Linked DNA regions of Homo sapiens: all the other regions are linked to region 2. The links are contacts of gene promoters, found by promoter capture Hi-C in blood cells and fetal thymus (Javierre and others, 2016). All regions are on one chromosome and are shown on one strand. The core of a region is centred on a gene start or on the middle of the fragment in contact, and the rest is flanking DNA. Distances in the headings are between cores, read along the strand shown.

Region 1 (2,700 bases), core at 171-2,670, 180 kb before region 2:
TATCTTGTTGGTGGTGGTGATTACCAGAATCCATGCGGGGGATAAAACAGCCCAGAGCTCTGCAAACACACGTTGCTCCGCGTCACCTCCCTGGTTTTGGGATTGACTTACCTAAGACGCAACCACAGGAGGAAACTGGGTGAAGAGCACACGGGACCTCTCAGTGCCACCTTTGCAACTTCCTGTGAACCTACTATTATTTCAAAAGAAAAAGTTAAGAAAAATTACTGTGGGCCAAACAAACATGGTATGGGCAGGGGAGGTTTGGTGTCTGAGCCAATAGTTCATAGCCTCTGCTTTCAAGGGACTGGGTGTTCTCATTCTTGATCCATGGCTGCTGTTTCTTTGGTCTCATTTCCCTGGTTCAGAGACCCAGTGACTAGGTCAAAGGGCAAGGTGGACGTGTCAGCTGTGGTATCAGAAGTGGCAGATGGAAACATTTTGTGTGTTTGTGTGTGTATGCATGATGTATTCAATTGCTGTGTAAAAACTTGGCCATAAGTGTAGTGGCTTACAACAACGCCCACTTATCACACAGTTTTTGTGGGTCAGGAGTACACGTAAGGCTGGCGGGGTCTCTGCTTAGGGTCCCACCAGGCAGAAATCAGGTGTCGGTCATGGCTGCTCTATCATCTGAGGCTTAGGCTCCCTCTTCCAAGCCACTGGTTGTTGGTGGAATGCATTTCTACAGCTATAGCACTGGAGGCCACGCTTTCTTCCCAGCTGTTGTCTAGGCTTTCTTTCGGGTCCTAGCGGCCACCCTCATGTCCCTACCATGGAACCCCCGTGGTCTCACAATACCGCAGCCTCCATCTTCAGGCTGCCAGGGAAGTCTCGTGGCTACTATGGGGTCTTACGTAAGACAATGTCATCGTCTTCACAGCTCCCACCACACTCAAGGGAAAGATTACAAAAGGTGAGTGCCAGCCGGGGGCAAGTGGCTCACGCCTGTAATCCCAGCACTTTGGGAGGCCGAGGCAGGCGGATCATCTGAGGTCGGGAGTTTCAGACCAGCCTGACCAACATGGAGAAACCCCGTCTCTACTAAAAATACAAAATTAGCCGGGTGTGGTGGCGCATGCCTGTAATCCCAGCTATTCCGGGGTCTGAGGCAGGAGAATCGCTTGAACCCGGGAGGAGGAGGTTGCGGTGAGCCAAGATTGTGCCATTGCACCCTAGCCTGGGTGACAAGACAAAACTCCATCTCAAAAACAAAAACAAGCAAACAAAAAACCCCCCAAAAACCAAAAGGTGAGTGCCTCTCGGGACCATCTTAGAATTCAGCCCACCACCCGCATCGAGGTTCATGAACAAGGCCCTGTCCAGTGACCATGTCCCCTCCTGTCTAATGCTCAATTTTTTGTTAGCAGCAGCACGACGCCTCCATCACCTCATGCTGGAGCAGCGTCTTTGCAGCTGGGTCCCATTCCTGGTATTCAAACCGTGAGTGACCTGTTTCCACCCAGTAGAGCATGGCAGAGCTGATGTCCATGGCTCCCATGATGACATCACATTGTGAGGCCCCTGTTGTATGAGTGACTCACTCTAGAATCTTACTCTCCTTATTGGCTCTGAAGATGCGAAATGCCACGAGTCCTACAGCTGCAAGGGAATGCATTCTGCAGACAGTCTGAGCTGTCAGCCTGCTCTGATAAACACTTTATTAGGATTTAGGCAACTACAGTGATCAGCAGTTATCATTTATGCATCAGCTTCTCTTTTTATTTTTCATTTTCTTTTTTAAATTTTTAAATTTTTATTTTTTTTTGAGATGGAGTCTCACTCTGTTGCTCAGGTTGGAGGACAGTGACATCGTCTCGGCTCACTGCAACCTCCACCTCCCTGGTCAAGCGATTCTCCTGGCTTAGCCTCCCGAGTAGCTGGGACTACAGATGCACACCACCATGCTCAGCTAATTTTTGGATTTTTAGTAGAGACGGGGTTTCATCATGTTGGCCAGGCTGGTCTTGAACTCCTGACCTCAGGTGATCCACCCACCTCCGCTTCCCAAAGTGTTGGGATTACAGGCATGAGCCACCACACCTGGTCTTATTTTTTTTTTGAGACAGGGTCTCACTCTGTCACCCAGCCTGGACTGCAGTGGTGGTATCACGGCTCACTGCAGCCTCGACTTCCCGGGCTCAAGTGATCCTCCCACCTCAGCCTCCCTAGTAGCTGAGACTGCAGGCATGCACCCCCATGCTCGACCAGTTTTTTTTTGTTTGCTTGTTTTTGTTTTGTTTTTTCTTTTCTTTTCTTTTTTAAGACTTTTTCTCCAAAGGCTCCATTATCCAGACTATTCTGCGTATTTTTTATAGAGTTAGGGTATCACCATGTTGCCCAGGAGTGTCTTGAACTCCTAGACTCAAGGGATACTCCTGCCTTGGTCTCCCAAAGTGCTGGGATTACAGGCATGAGACACCACGCCAGGCCTCAATTTCTCTTTTTAAACCACAGGGTGTGGTAACAGAATTTGAGTTTATGCTATGACAGTAGAGTTGAGTAACTTTAAGATATGGCTCCAAAAATACATCTAATGCATTTTAGCATGAAAATACTGCATGAAATTGACTGGATTGAGAAAACACTATTTTCTAGGCAAAACTGTGGTCTGCACAGTGTGTATTAAGCTAGGCCAAAGACATGGAGGATACCATTTTTGAGGAATTGTTAAATCCAAATGTACAGCAGATTTTGTTC
Region 2 (2,700 bases), core at 74-2,573:
CCCGGAGGAAGGAACAGCTGGGCTGGGCCCTGAAGAATCATCAGGAGGCGGCACGGTGTGTGCAGAAGGTGCCACTCTGGAGAGGATCCCCAAGACCTGTGTGCCACCTGTCGGACTGGAGAAGGCAAGGAAGGAAGTTGATCTGGGCAGGAGGCATGATGAAAGCCTGGGTCCAATCCCCATCCGCTCCTTACTGAAAAGCTAGGAAACGGTCAGGAGATGTTCGCTGGGCCGGCGGCACTCCGCTGAGGCCTGCACCAGCTCATGGAGTTGTCTCCCAAACTCTTGCTGGGAAGGTGCTATTTTTGGCCCTCTAAAGGTCAGAAAACAAGCTCAAAAGCCTTCAGGACTCGGTCTGAGGTCACCGGGCGATGAATGGAGGGGCCCTGTCTGCACCCAGGCAAACAAAGAGGCTCCAGACTGCCAGGCCGGATGCGCTCCGGGCTGGACGCCGGCTCCGCGTGTCTGGGCTTGCCATTCCTGGACCGCCAGACTTCATTTACTACTATTTTTATTTAAAAAGACTCACTTGGAAGAAAGTGATAGATTTCTTGAAAGGAAAGCTGGTATGACTGCTCTGAAGGAAAACCAGTTTTCACTTAGCACCAATGGAAAGTGACGGAAATGAAACATAACAAACAGCACTGTGGGTTTCTTGCCCGCGGCTTCCCTGAGGACGCCTGCTCTTCCACTCAGAAGAAAAGGGAGGAGCAGCGAGCGTCGGGAGGTGTTCAAAACACAGCGAGACCCAGCCAGAAGGCCTGGACAACAACTCCGCAGGCAACGTGTGGAAGTTCAGACCAAGTCAGTCGGCTGCGCCCCAGCCTGGCTGAGGCTCTGCAGACCCGGGGCTCGGCCGAAGACTGCGCGACCTTGGGCAGAGCGCCACACCTTCCCGAGCCTCAGTTTCTCTGGCTGTCAACTAGGAGGATCGCTTCCTTGGCTTGCAGGGATTTGGGGTTTCGGGGACCCTGGAAGAGCTCGGTCCCGGGCAGCTACAAGTGCAAAGGCGTCCTTGGCGGAGGCGGCCGGACCCCGGCGCGGCCCTGCGGACGTCTGGGGACCTGGACACCGCCCGGGATCAGGGTCGGGGTGGGGTGCTTACCTGGTGGCCGCGGCAGTCCCCGCGCGCCGTGCGGAGCAGCCGGGCGTCTAGCCTGGGCGGGAGCAGGGCCAGGGCCAGGGGCGGCGGGGCGCAGGGGGCGGTGGCGCCCAGGAGCCAGGTGGCGCGAGGCCGGACCCGGGCGCCCACCCTGCCTGCCGGACCCAGCAACGCCAGCAACCCGGCCATGGTGCGCAGCTAGGCGCAGCACCCGCGCCGCTGACCCGGGAGGCGGGCGGAGGCCGGGGAGGGTGGGCGGAGCTGACCCGGCGAGGGCCCTCCCCGGCCCCGCCCGCCGGCTTCGCCGCCGCGCGCGCGCGCTGGGCGGGACTGAGGAGGCCTGTGCACATCCCCTTGGCTCACCCGCTAGCTCCGCTCCTCGGGAGCCGGAGTCCAGGGCTGGTGGGCGGGGCTGAAGGAGCGCGCCCCGCCTCCTCTCCGCCCACCAGCCCCGCCCCTTTGGGGGTGGGTGCAGGTCTTTTCAGGGTCTTGGGCTTTCTAACTGTGGTGTGTAGTTGGCGGGTTTCCTTATTCTGCGGGCACAAAGGTGGGCGTAGGGCCGTGGCTTATGAGCTTTTCTCCCTGCAGAAATGGGTGAAATCTGAAAAAAAATTATAGATATGTTTACGTGTTAGCTCCAAAGAAGAAAATAAATATGAGAATTGATATTAGTACATGTTTAATAAAAAGTCCTCTGACCCTCATAGATTGTTGGCGTGAATGTAAAGCGAAAGATGGTGTGGCAGTTTCTTGAAAAGTTAGACATACACTAACCATACAACCCAGCAACTCCACTCCTCGGTAGCTTCTCAAGAGAAACAAAGGCTCGACACTCAAAGACTAAAATGTGAAGACACCAATGTTTGTAGAGATCTTATAAATATTAGTCAACAATTAGGAATGCCCATAAACTGGGACGTACTGTGGCACAAGTCTTCAATGGGACGCAATGCAACAATTAAAGGGAACAGACTACTGATACATGCACAACATAAATGAATCTCAAAGCTCTTATGCCAATTGAAAAAATCTAGGCACAAAAGTCACACACTGGAGGATTCCAGCTACATGAAGTGCCCAGAATAGGCAAAATCACAGAGACCTAAAACAGATCCGTGGTGGCCTAGGGCTGGGAGTGGGAAATGAGATTGACTGCCAAGGAGTGGGAGGAACGTCTTGGGGTGAGGGAAGGATCCTAAACCCAGATTGTAGGGATGGTGACAGCTGTGTAACTAAAACTCGTGGGACTGTACACTTAACATGGATGAATTTTATGCTGTGTAAATTATACTTCAATAAAGATGTTCTGGCTGGGTGGAATGGCTCATGCCTATAATCCAAGCACGTTGGGAGGCTGAGGTGGGAGGATTACTTGAGCTCAGGAGTTCAAGACCAGCCTGAGCAACATAGCGAAACCCTGTCACTACAAAAATAAAAATAAATTAGCCTGGTGTGGTGGCATGCACCTGTAGTCCCAACTACTCGGGAGGCTGACGCAGAATTGCTTGAGCTCAGGAGGTCCAGGTTTCAGGGAGCCACGATGGTGCTACTGCACTCCAGCCTGGGTGACAGAGCGAGACCCTGTCTCTCTAGAAAAA
Region 3 (2,700 bases), core at 110-2,609, 140 kb before region 2:
TTAGAAACTGTTTGTGATCTAGTAATACACAAGGAAAATAGGACACTGGAATGTTAAAAATAGGTCTGTTCCAGACAAAGAACTTGCATACCTACTCCATACATAATACACAGGGTAACAGCCACTCTTTCTACAGCCTTTACAAGAAGTATCTTAAACATCTTTCTATGGAGGAAAAAATGGTTCAAAAACTCAGTAAGAACACTTTTTTATGAGAGGCATATTCCCCGCACTTACAAAATAGCACCTACATTTACTGGAAATTAATTTAGTGACAGAAAATCTCATGTTTAGTAACTAAACCTTCATTATTTTTTCATTAAAATAGCTGACTTCACAATATAGAAATAAAACAGCCACAACAAAAACTAAGAATTGCTAGGAAATGTTTGCAAAACTGAAAATAATGTTCACCATTATCTTAAAAGGAAAAAAAAAAAGTCAGGCCATGAAAAGTTTATTCCTCCAGGAATTTTCATATTACCCACTAGATGTTATGTTCAAGTGACAGCAACAGCAGTGAGATCTCCAAAGGCTACATTTACAATAGAGGGCCTGACTGCCTTAAAAAGCTTGTGCTGATACATTGTGTGTATTGAAACATTACTCTGTGATCCATAAACATATATAATTATTATGTATCAATTTTTAAAAGATTTTTTTTAAAAAAAAAAGCTTGTGTGGCAAAACCTTGTCTCTACAAAAAATCAGCCAGATGCCTGTAGTCCCAGCTGCTGGGGAGGCTGAAGTGGGAGGATCACCAAATCCCAGGAGGTTGAGGCAGCAGTGAGCCATGATCACACCACTGCACTCCAGCCTGAGTGATAAGAGTGAGGCCTTGTCTCAAAAAAAAGTTTATGTTGAAACAATGACAAACTAAACTGCTGGGGACCTTGGTTCCCACTCAGCAGGGCAGTCCAGCAGGCATCCATTCTGAAGTTTCACAGTGAATCTAAGCCAGAGGGAAGATTTAACTGGGCCACAGTGAAAGCTGGTGCTGATGGAACCAAGGTAGAAGGCCACAGCAGGTTAACACTGAACTGGCCATGTCCCTGTCTCTATACAGGGGAGGGAAAAACTCTTAGCCTGGGTATTTTCCCAAAGGACAATGGCTACCCTTGGGGCCTCTCTTCATTTAATTATTATAAACTACTGAAAATACCCAATCTCCTGGGCTCGGCGCACAGCCAAATTTACATGGGGTATCATTTGGCAGTGATGAGGGGCTAACTCACTTCTGTGACAGGAGGAACAGAACGCTTTCACAAGTTATCTTAAAAACAACAAACTAGCTGGGCGAGGTGGCTCACGCCTGTAATCCCAACACTTTGGGAGGCTGAGGCAGGTGGATCACCTGAGGTCAGGAGTTCGAGACCAGGCTGACCAACATGGTGAAACCCCATCTCTACCAAAAATACAAAATTAGCTGAGTGTGGTGGTGCATGCCTGTAATCCCAGCTACTTGGGAGGCTGAGGCCAGAGAATCGCTCGAACCCAGGAGGTGGAGGTTGCAGTGAGCCAAGATCACGCCATTGCACTCCAGCCTTGACAACAAGAGCGAAACTCCTCCTAAAAAAAAAACAACAGAAAACCAAAAAAACAAATAGGCCGGGCGCAGTGGTTCACACCTAAAAATTCCCAGCACTTTGAGAGGCCAAGGAGGGTGGATCACATGAGGTCAGGAGTTCAAGACCAGCCTGGCCAACATGGTGAAATCCCATCTCTACTAAAAATACAGAAATTAGCTAGCGTGGTGGCACATGCCTGTAATCCCAGCTACTCAGGAGGCTGAGGCAGGAGAATCGCTTCAACCGGGGAGGCAGAGGTTGCAGTGAGCTGAGACTGCGCCACTTCACTCCAGCCTGGGTGACAGAGTGAGACCCTGTCTCAAAAAACAAAATAAAAGGACAACAGAAAAAAAAAAACAAAACCCAAACCCTTCTTCCTATACTAAAGTCATAATACAGGGGAAGATATGACAAACTATGGTATCTGGTTTATCTTTAATCAAAATTCTTATAGGAGAAGTAGTAAAAAGCTTTACTTTCATTTCAAGAACATTTTTCTTTCCTATTCAATTTCTATGGTCAGGTTTAATTTAATTTAGAAATCTCATATAAAATGTATAAATTATGATGGTTTCATGTTTATAAACATAAGTATTGCCAGGCGTGGTGGCTCACGCCTGTAATCCCAGCACTTTGGGAGGCCTAGGCGGGTGGATCACGAGGTCAGGAGTTTGAGACCAGCCTGGCCATTATGGTGAAACCCTGTCTCTACTAAAAAAATACAAAAATTAGCCGGGCATGGTGGCATGCACCTGGGAGGCTGAGGCAGGAGAATCGCTTGAACCCGGGAGGCGGAGATTGTGGTGAGCCGAGATCGCACCATTGCACTCCAGCCTGAGTTACAGAGCAAGACTCCGTCTCAAAAAAAAAAAAAAAAAAAAGATAAGTATTACATAATTTATAAGAATGTCTTTAAATTAGGCTGTAAGGTTCCATGTTTGGGGCAGAAACCATTTACTGAACCAGTGGAACACACTGCGGCCTGACATACCTCGGCAGTGGCTGCTATTTATTTTGGAAGCATGATGGGTAGAAATAAACTGTACGATGAAAATAAATACAACATCTTTAAAATCCACAGTCAATGTTAACAGTTTTTGTTGGCTCAGAGTTTAAGAACACAAGGATAACT
Region 4 (2,700 bases), core at 175-2,674, 160 kb before region 2:
TAAAATGGCCGCTCTGGGAGTGTCTGTCTTATGCAGTTGTAGATAAGGGATGAAATACGCCCTGGTCTCCTGCAGCTCTCCCAGGCTTGCTAGGATTGGGAAATTCCAGCCTGGTGAAATTCTAGTCAGATCGGTTGTCTGTTCTTGAACCCTGTTTCCTGTTAAGATGTTTATCAATGACAATGCGTGCACAGTGGGACATGAAACCTCATCAGCAATTCTAATTTTGCCCTGGACTTTGATCTCGCTCTGCCCCCATTTGCCTTGTGATATTTTATTGCCTTTGAAGCATGTGATCTCTGTGACCCACAACCTATTCGTACACTCCCTCCCCTTTGAAAATTGCTAATAAAAGCTTGCTGGTTTTGCGGCTCGGGAGCAACACAGAACCTGCTGACGTGATGTCACCCCCAGAGACCCAGCTGTAAAATTTCTCTCTTTTGTACTCTTTCTCAGACCGGCCGATGCTTAGGGAAAAGAGAAAAGAACCTACATTGAAATATTGGGGGCTGGTTCCTCCGATACTGTGGGAAATTGAATAGATGCTATTTTGGAGAATTTCAACATCTTTTCAATTTTCTCCTCCCAGCTCCCTCCTTGGTGGAAAGCAGCTTGGGTCCTGGAGGTGGACGGAGGAGGAGGGAGAGCTAGGAGATGCCCCACTTTCCTCTTGGGCACAGCACCTGAACCCGTGGTCTCGGCGCCTGGGTGGGAGCCTGCCCCAGCCGCCACTGATTCCTTCATTTGGTACGGACTGAATGGGGAGAAGGTGCGGTGTGGCCAGGCAGAACTGTCATTCGCCTTGCTGCTTTGGGCCTCAGGCACCTCACCTATAAAGTGGGGGATGGCCATCTTCCCATTGCACTGGGTGGCTGGGGAGTCCCAGGGGAAGAAGCCTGTCAAGTGCTTGGCTGCTCAGTGAGCCCTAAAAATAATGCGAATGATCAGCCCTCCCCAGCCGTTGGTGTATTGAGGCCTCATGCCCAGCAGGAGCACAGATCATGGATACCTTCTTCCCTCAAGCTGGCCAGGAGCCTTGAAGAGTGGTGCCTTAGCAAAATATTAAAGGCTGGCTAGAAATCTCCAAGGAAACCCTGATCCCTCCTGCATGGATGGTCCTGAGGGCAGCTGGAGGGAGGCCCACAGCCTGTTTATTTCAGAGAGGCCCAAAGCAGAGGACTTTGAGATGCTGTAATTTTTGTGTTGAGGATGCTGTGACTCAGTTACCAGAAAAAACTGGACACAGTCAATACATTCAATGCAAAATAAAACTGATTCAGGCTAACATTCAGAAAACCGAACCTGGTAAAAATAATGGTCATTAAAAGAAAAGGGGGCCCAGGCAGCGTGGCTCACGCCTGTAATCCCAGCACTTTGGAAGGCCGAGGCGGGCAGATTGCTTGGTCCCAGAAGTTTAAGACCAGCCTGTGCAACATGGCGAAACCTCATCTCTACAAAAAATAGCAAAATTAGCCGGGTGCGGTAGTGCGCACCTATAATCCCAGCTACTCGGGAGGCTGAGGGGGGTGGATCACCTGAGCCCAGGAGGTCAAGGCTATGGTGAGCCATGATCATGCCACTGCACTCCAGCCTGGATGACAGAGTGAGACCCTGTTTCAAAATTTAAAAAAAAAAAAAAAAAAAAAGGGGGAAATAAAAACAATGAGAAAATGGTTGAGTTTGGCTGTATAGAAAATTGGGGAAATTAAATGGCTAATCCAGGTTTGTTCTGGAAAAGTCCATGACAAAAACGCATCACTTAATTTTTATTAAAATGCTCTATACTCACAATGTCAAAATATCCTTGGGGCCAAACCTTCCCATCAACTGTGAAGCCGGGAACCACACAGGGTTTGAGAAAAAGCAGGGCCACACATGGTTCTCCCTTGCTGGCCTCTCCCTGGAGTTCTGCCCACGTGTCTGTGTCTCCCACAGAACCTGCCTGTTCACCTCCCACCATTCACCTCCCACAGCTCCTTCTGCTTCTGAAGGAAACCCAGGGCCCCGGGGTCTGTATAGAGAACCAGTCACTATCTCAGTCATACCACCGTGTGCAGAAAGCCACGCAGAGGCCTGTGGCTCTTGGTTCTTCATTAGGAGTCTCATGAGAAGTTTCACTAGCTATTGACGTCAACACAACTTATAGGCAGATAAAATGCACCTCTTTTTGGGTACGATTCTCCCTTTACCATCTGCTGGAGGAGAGAAGGGTGGGTTCTTCTGACTTCATGGAATGACTCCTGTAATCACCAATGCAACGGCTGCAATGTTCTTACCCAAGCATGAGCAGAAGGTAGAAAAGATAAAAACACAGAGGAGAGAAGAGGCAGACCAGCTTTATTTTTGAACCCAATCACTGGGTGCCCAACTATGACTCTGCTATCTTCGAAATGATGAGATGGGGCACACTCCCCTAACAGTATTTAGCTAGACCAACAAGGATCCTGGCTCCTCCCAGGGCTGTAGCAGAGGGACGAGGCCCTTCGAAGCTTCTAGTGGGCACAGTGTATTTGAAATCCATCCTTTTTAAAGCCCAGTTTCACTTGGCCTACTTGATTTATTGCTGGTAGCAAGATCATTAGAATTTTAGTTAATTAATATGTGCCAACTCTGCACCGGTGAGGACTCTGGAGTCTCTTGTTACTGCAAGCATAAAAAGTGCAGCCCACAGGGCTTCCTGGCCATGGAAAGGACCAAATG

Evidence for each region. The method cuts DNA at HindIII sites, captures the fragments that hold promoters and counts their contacts. A CHiCAGO score of 5 or more calls a contact.
Region 1: a contact is called between a fragment that was not itself captured here and the fragment with the promoter of FAM210B in region 2, in 1 of 17 cell types (neutrophils). The highest score is 6.1, in neutrophils.
Region 3: a fragment that was not itself captured here is called in contact with the fragment with the promoter of FAM210B in region 2 in 9 of 17 cell types (monocytes, neutrophils, activated CD4 T cells and 6 more); the score reaches 8.6 in monocytes.
Region 4: a fragment that was not itself captured here is called in contact with the fragment with the promoter of FAM210B in region 2 in 7 of 17 cell types (neutrophils, naive CD8 T cells, non-activated CD4 T cells and 4 more); the score reaches 8.6 in neutrophils.

What each region holds. Positions count from the first base shown.
Region 1 is chr20:56,539,435-56,542,134 of GRCh38, reverse strand. No RefSeq gene overlaps it. Among named protein-coding and RNA genes, the nearest start is that of FAM209B, 7.5 kb to the right of the region's middle. The HindIII fragment of the contact is 4,088 bases long and covers 1-2,700 here.
Region 2 is chr20:56,357,597-56,360,296 of GRCh38, reverse strand. It overlaps FAM210B (family with sequence similarity 210 member B), which reads right to left and starts at 1,323. Exons shown (of 3, transcript NM_080821.3): 1 at 1,106-1,323. The coding sequence starts at 1,291. RefSeq lists a silencer at 1,047-1,646. The HindIII fragment of the contact is 7,749 bases long and covers 1-2,700 here.
Region 3 is chr20:56,498,944-56,501,643 of GRCh38, reverse strand. The region is part of intron 5 of RTF2 (replication termination factor 2); the gene reads right to left. It also overlaps the pseudogene GCNT7. Among named protein-coding and RNA genes, the nearest start is that of FAM209A, 24 kb to the left of the region's middle. RefSeq lists a silencer at 724-924. The HindIII fragment of the contact is 1,363 bases long and covers 678-2,040 here.
Region 4 is chr20:56,518,503-56,521,202 of GRCh38, reverse strand. It overlaps RTF2 (replication termination factor 2), which reads right to left. Exons shown (of 9, transcript NM_016407.5): 9 at 1,754-2,700. It also overlaps the pseudogene GCNT7. Among named protein-coding and RNA genes, the nearest start is that of FAM209A, 4.9 kb to the left of the region's middle. The HindIII fragment of the contact is 2,134 bases long and covers 358-2,491 here.